Regions from separate parts of the Homo sapiens genome. Here region 2 is linked to region 1. Evidence: promoter capture Hi-C in 16 types of primary human blood cells and fetal thymus (Javierre and others, 2016). All regions are on one chromosome and are shown on one strand. Each heading gives the region's core, a stretch centred on a gene start or on the middle of the fragment in contact. The rest is flanking DNA. Distances are from core to core; before and after follow the strand shown. Region 1 holds the start of MOGAT1 (monoacylglycerol O-acyltransferase 1). Region 2 has its middle 140 kb from the start of SCG2.

Region 1 (3,129 bases), core at 344-2,843:
TTCATTCTGAAACAAATGACTTAGAAATTCCAGGGATGAGCCGGGCGCGGTGGCTCACGCCTGTAATCCCAGCACTTTGGGAGGCTGAGACAGGCGGATCACCTGAGATTGGGAGTTCGAGACCACCCTGACCAACATGGAGAAACCCCGTCTCTACTAAAAAGACAAAATTAGCCAGATGTGGTGGCACATGCCTGTAACCCCAGCTACTCGGCAGGCTGAGGCAGAAGAATTACTTGAACCCGGGAGGCGGAGGTTGTGGTGAGCCGAGATGGCGCCACTGCACTCCAGCGTGGGCAACAAGAGTGAAACTCCGTCTCAAAGATAATAATAATAATAATAATAATAATAATAATAATAAACAAATTCCAGGATGGAGCCTGGGCATCTGCACTTTTTAGAAGCTTCTCCAGTGATTCTCATCTAGAGCCAGGGTTGAGAACCACTGATTCAGGCTTTCGAAATGTAAAAGCAGTTTTAAAAGTGTAAAACTCTCCAATGCAATGGGCTTATTACTATTATTACCACCCCAACGCTGTACAATCCATGATCTTACAGCATACACATGATCTTAGTCTTCAGAAGAGTTTATGTTTCAATAGAAGGGTCTCCCCCAAATTCCTCCCTCCTCCCACATCACCCCTATTTACTTCAAGAGCAGAACAAATATGAAGGAAAAAACAAAAAACAAAAAGAAAAACCACCCACGTTTTTGCCCCATCTAATGATTCGGCTCGTGTATGTTTCATGGGCTCAACTTGGGAACCAACTGGAACACACACGCTACTGAGTCAAACTATTTCCAGAGAGAAACCGCTCAACCAAATGCAATGAGTGGTGCAGCCTTCTTTACAGAAAGGTACTGCTATGCATCCAGGAAATCTCCAAAACGGGAAAGGGAACACTGCTCTTTGTCAGGAGGGTGGGGAGACAAAGAGGGAGAAGGAACAAGGTTTTAACTACTGAGGCATTACTTTGCCATCTATGAATCAACAGTTCGAGAAACGAGTTTGCCAACTTTTGAGGGGTTAAAGTGCTCATGCGTTCGATGGGGTCATGGTTACATTTTGGTAGATACAGTCGCCAAAAGTCATCGAGCTGTATCCGTATAACTGCGCCTTTTATTGTAGGCAAGGTGCACCTCAATTTAAAAAAGTAACGCAGGAGAAAATAAAATTAAACAGTCGTTAGCGATGAGGTTCTCGTGAGGAAACCAGAGTCCACGTTAGCTCCAAATGCCCTCTTTGACCTGCCTGCTCTGGCCGACAGGGGAACGAGGGTTGGAAGGTTCTATGCAGGTCCTGGAATCCGGACCGTCCCGAGGGAGGATATGGAGCCCAAGCCCCGCGGCCCGGGGGGCGGGGTCCTTACCGAGCAGCAGGTATTTCAGGACCCACTGCAGCACGGCCACCGTCTGCAGCCGCCGCGCCAGCTGGATGTTGAGCGGTGCAAACTCTACCTTCATGGCCTGGCCGGGCGAGGACGGCGCCAGCCACTGCAGCCTGCACCCACGCTGCTCTGCGGCGCCTGTGGGAAGTGCCCGGCCGGATCCGGGCCCCGCGCTGGGCACTGGCTGGGCGGAGAGGAAAAGGCAGAGGCTAGGCAGCGAGCGGGGACCCAACTGCGCCCTGGGTGGGAGGGCGCGCTGGGCTGAGGCTGGGGGCAGCCAATCACAAGCGCCGGGCGCCAGAGCTGGCCCAGCGCCCTGGCCCCGGAGCAGCTACAGCGGCCCGGGCGCATTGGCTGGCGCGCCGGGCGTTGGCGAGAGTGCGCCGCGTGGGACACGAGGGACGGGGAGAGGGGTCAACTGGCAGCCAGCCCGAGCCGGGCAGCGCGGGCTCCTGCCGCCTGGCTGAGGACCTGGGATCTCCACCAGGATCTGACCATTGTTCAGCTGATCGATCACCCAGCGCTTGCCTTCAGCATCCCACCCCTTCATTCGAACCCTCGGTGATTGGGGAAGGGTTAGTTTGAGGAATCGCACACCAGCTGGAGAGATGAGCGAGACTTGTTTCTTAGTTTATTGATCTGTGTCCCCCCGCAACCTCCAATTTCCCCGCGGATGGGGAAGGGGACCTGGCTTCCTCACTCTTGGGTCCTCAGTTCCCTACAGGAGCTCCGGGAATCTTTCACCCATTCATTCATTCAACCCACATTTATTGAGCACTTGCCACTTGCTGAGCACCATCCGGGCGCTTGGATAACCAAGCTGTCAAGCGCATCCGTGTGAAGAGACCACCAACAGGCATTGTGTGAGCAACAAGGCTGTTTATTCACTTAGGTGCAAGTCAGCTGAGTCCGAAAAAGAGTCAGCGAAGGGAGATGGGGAAGGGGTTGCTTTATAGGAGTTGTCTAGGTAATGGAAAATTACAGTAGAAGGTGGTTATCTATTGTTAGCAGAGGAAGGGGTCACAAGGTACAGGGTGGGGAGATCATAAGACTCATTGTCCAGAAGAAGAATGTCACAAAGTCGATTGATCGGCTAAGGTAGGGCAGGGACAAGTCACAATGGTAAAATGTTGTAATGTTGGTTAATCAGTTAAGGCAGGAACTGGCTGTTTTACTTCTTTGCGTTTTTTTTGGCTGCTCCAGGCTTCTTGGCTCCTGCAGGCCACCTGGATGTGTACATGCAGGTCACAGAGGTTATAATGGCTGAGCTTTGGCTCAGAGGCCTGACACAAGCTATTCATTGTCTTGTTCTCAGAGTACAGGGGGAAACAGACATAAGCAAAACAACTACACAATTTGGTGTATAATTACAAGTAAGACCCTACTGTGAATGACTAGAAGATTCCAAAACCAAGACTGCTGCACGGTCAGGGAAGTGTCTGAAGAAGTGCCCTTACTTGAGCTGTAGCCAAATCTAGTTAACCCAGGAGTCATCCGGGCAAAGGGAAGCACATATGCAAAGGTCCTGTGGCTGAACTCCAAGAAGAGCTCAAAGAGTGAGAGCTTGGGGGACAAGGGTGAGATTGGGGTGACATCAGGCAAAAATGGTGGGCAAGGTCCAGACCCTTGCAGACTGAGTTAGGGTTCAAGTTTGAACCCCAAGAGCAGTACAAGACACTGAAGGGTTTCAATTACGATGTGCTAAATGGATGGCTAGATTCTAAATAGTGCCTAGTCCTT
Region 2 (3,137 bases), core at 497-2,996, 790 kb before region 1:
CACTTTATTTTCCTTAACTGCCCATGTGATTGCACTATTGTTGATGGCCATTGCTCTTCTGGTCAGTTTGACCTTTTCTGTTACCCTTGGTGCAGCAGGGGAAGTGCTGGTTCTCAGAGGCATGCACATGAGTCAATTTGGAGGCACCGAGCCATGAGGTTTTCCTATTGCACAAGTTCCCTGGCACAGAAGACCTAGCTTTGCCTCTTTCATCATCACCCCCAACTGTTATCCCCAGAGTCACACTCCACAGCCTCTTGCCTCACCTCCCAGGGTTTCTGGCTTGCAGAAAGACACTTCGTGCCTAATTGTCTTCTGCAGTTGTATTAGTCTGTTCTCACACTGCTAATACAGACATACCCAAGACTGACTAATTTATAAAGGAAAGAGGTTTAATTGACTCACAGTTCCACATGGCCGGGGAGGCCTCACAATCATGGTGGAAGGCGAATGAGGAGCAAAGGCACATCTTACATGACAGCAGGCAAGAAGGCTTGTGCAGGGGAACCTCCATTTATAAAACCATCAGATCTCATGAGACTTATTCCCTACCACGAGAACAGTAGGGGGGAGACTGCTCCCATGATTCGATTATCTTCACCTGGCCCTGCCCTTGTTATGTGGGGATTATTACAATTCAAGGTGAGGTTTGGGTCGGGACACAGCCAAACCATATTAGCAGTTCTGGTTAATCCACAGAAAAGGTTCAGGCTGCTCCCTTTCTCCAGCTTGCCATTGATCTCTAATTTTCTTATCCTCTGGTAGGACAGACAATGGGTCTGAGTAGCCTAAGCTTATGTCCAATTTGAAACTGATGCTACCCCTTCTATAGGCACTGCAAATATTGATGAATGGATAAAGAATGGCACTCCAGATACTTATGAATGGATATTTATGAATGGATACTTATGAATGGAGAGCTGTTTCTTCCAGCTTTTCTGTGGTAGAGAGAATAATTCTTTCCTTCCTCCTTACAAAGACATCCATATCCTAATCTACAGAACCTTTGAATATGTTATATCACGTGGTAAGTAGGAATTAAGGTTGCTACTCAGCTGACCTTAAAATAAGGAGAGTATCCTGGATTATCTGGCAGACCTAGTGTAATCACAAAGGTCCTTAAATGTGGAAGAGGGAGGCAGGGTAACTAGTGTCAGAGCAGTGGAATGTGAGAAAGACTTGACTGGCTGTTGCAGGTTCTGAAGGTGAAGAAAGGGCCCATGGACCAGGGAATGTGGGCAGCTTGTAGAAGCTGGAAAAGGCAAGTAAATAGATATTCCCCTAGAGCCTCCAGAATGCAATGCAGCTCTGCCAACACCTTGATTTCAACCCAGTGGACCCATCTTAGACTTCTGACCTCCAGAACTGTAAGGTAATACATTTGCATTGTTTTAAGCCACTAATTTTGTGGTTGGTTGTTACAGCAGGAATGGTAAACTAATACACTCTCTTTTAGTTTGCAGGGAGAATGGATATAATCCCCTCCCAAAAGCTATGCAATTTCCTATAGGTGGGGTAAAGGCCCAGGATTCCATATGCTTTTCTCTTCTTTATCCTCTGGCCTCAAGTTCTCTCATGTTTATCTCCTAGAGAGGTGTATTAGTCTGGTCCCACATTGCTATGAAGAAATACCTGAGATTGGGTAATTTATAAAGAAAAGAGGTTTAACTGGCTCATGGTGATATAGGCTGTACAGGAAGCATGGTGCTGGCATCTGCTCAGCTTCTGAGGAGGCCTCATGAAACTTACCATCACAACAGAAGGTGAAGGAGAAGCCAGCACTTCACATGGCTGGAGCAGAAGGAAGAGAGAGAGGGTGGGGGAGGTGCTGCACATTTTTAGACAACCAGCTCTTGTGAGAACTGACTCACTATACAGTACCAAGGAGGGACGGTGCCAAACCATTCATGAGAACTCTAACCCCATGATCCAGTCACCTCCCACCAGGACCACCTCCAACACTGGAGATTACAATTACACATGAAATCTGGTAAGGAAACAGATCCGAACCATATAATTCTATCTCTGCCCCCCAACTCTAAAATCTCATGTCCCTCTCATTGTGAAATACAATTATGCCTTCCCAACAGTCCCCCAAAGTCTTAACTCATTCCATCATTAACATAAAAATCCAAACTCAAAAGTCTCATCTGAGACAAGGCAAGTCTGTTCCACCTATGAGCCTGTAAAACCAAAAACAAGTTAGTTACTCCCAAGACATAATGGGAGTACAGGCATTAAGAAATAATCCCATTCCAAAAGGGAGAAATTCACCAAAAGAAAGTGGCTACAGGCCCCATGCAAGCCTGAAACCCAGCAGGGCCATTATTATATCTCAAAGCTCCACAATAGTCTCCCTTGACTCCATATCTCACATACAGGGCACACTGGTGTAAGGGGTGGGCTCCCAAGGTCTTGGGCATCTCTGTCCATGAGGCTTTGCAGGATTCAGCTCCTGTGGTTAATCGCAAGGGCTGGTGTTGAGTGCCTGAGGCTTGTCCAGGTGCAGGGGGCAAGCTGTCAGTAGATTGTGACAGACCCCGTTGTGGGGTCTGGAGGATGGTGGCCCTCTTTTCACAGCTCCAAATGGCAGTGCCCCATTGGAGACTCTGTATGGGGGCTCCAACCCCTCATTTCCCCTCTGTGCTGCCCTAGTAGAGGTCCTCCATAAGGGCTTCGGCCTGGACATCCAAGCTTTTTCATACATCTTCAGAAATCTAGGCTTCCAAGCCTCAGCTATGACACTCTGCATGCCCAAAGGCTTACTACCACGTGGAAGCTGCCAAGGCCTATGGCTTTCACCCTCTGAAGCAGTGGCACGAGCTGTACCTGGGCCCCTTTTAACTCCAGCTGGAGCTGAAGTAGCTGGGATGCAGGGAGCAGTGTCCCAAAGCTGTGCAGGGCAGTAGGGCCCTGGGCCTGGCCCACTAAACCAAACTTTCCTCCTAGGTTTCTTAGCCTGTGGTGGGAGGGGCTGCCTAGAAGGTCTCTGAAATGTCTTCAAGGCCTTCTCCCCATTGTCTATTAGCACTTGGCTCCTCTTTTACTTATGAAAATTTCTGCAGCCTGCTTGAACTGCTCCCTTGAAAATGGCATTTTCTTTGCTATCACATGGCCAGGCTGCAAATTTTCCAATC

What was found. The method cuts DNA at HindIII sites, captures the fragments that hold promoters and counts their contacts. A CHiCAGO score of 5 or more calls a contact.
Region 2: a fragment that was not itself captured here is called in contact with the fragment with the promoter of MOGAT1 in region 1 in 1 of 17 cell types (monocytes); the score reaches 6.1 in monocytes.

Annotation. Positions count from the first base shown.
Region 1 is chr2:222,670,122-222,673,250 of GRCh38, reverse strand. It overlaps MOGAT1 (monoacylglycerol O-acyltransferase 1), which reads right to left and starts at 1,593. Exons shown (of 6, transcript NM_058165.3): 1 at 1,372-1,593. The coding sequence starts at 1,465. It overlaps LOC124907985 (a long non-coding RNA gene), which reads right to left. Exons shown (of 2, transcript XR_007088095.1): 2 at 2,249-2,615. The HindIII fragment of the contact is 3,409 bases long and covers 407-3,129 here.
Region 2 is chr2:223,463,003-223,466,139 of GRCh38, reverse strand. No RefSeq gene overlaps it. Among named protein-coding and RNA genes, the nearest start is that of SCG2, 140 kb to the left of the region's middle. The HindIII fragment of the contact is 1,901 bases long and covers 796-2,696 here.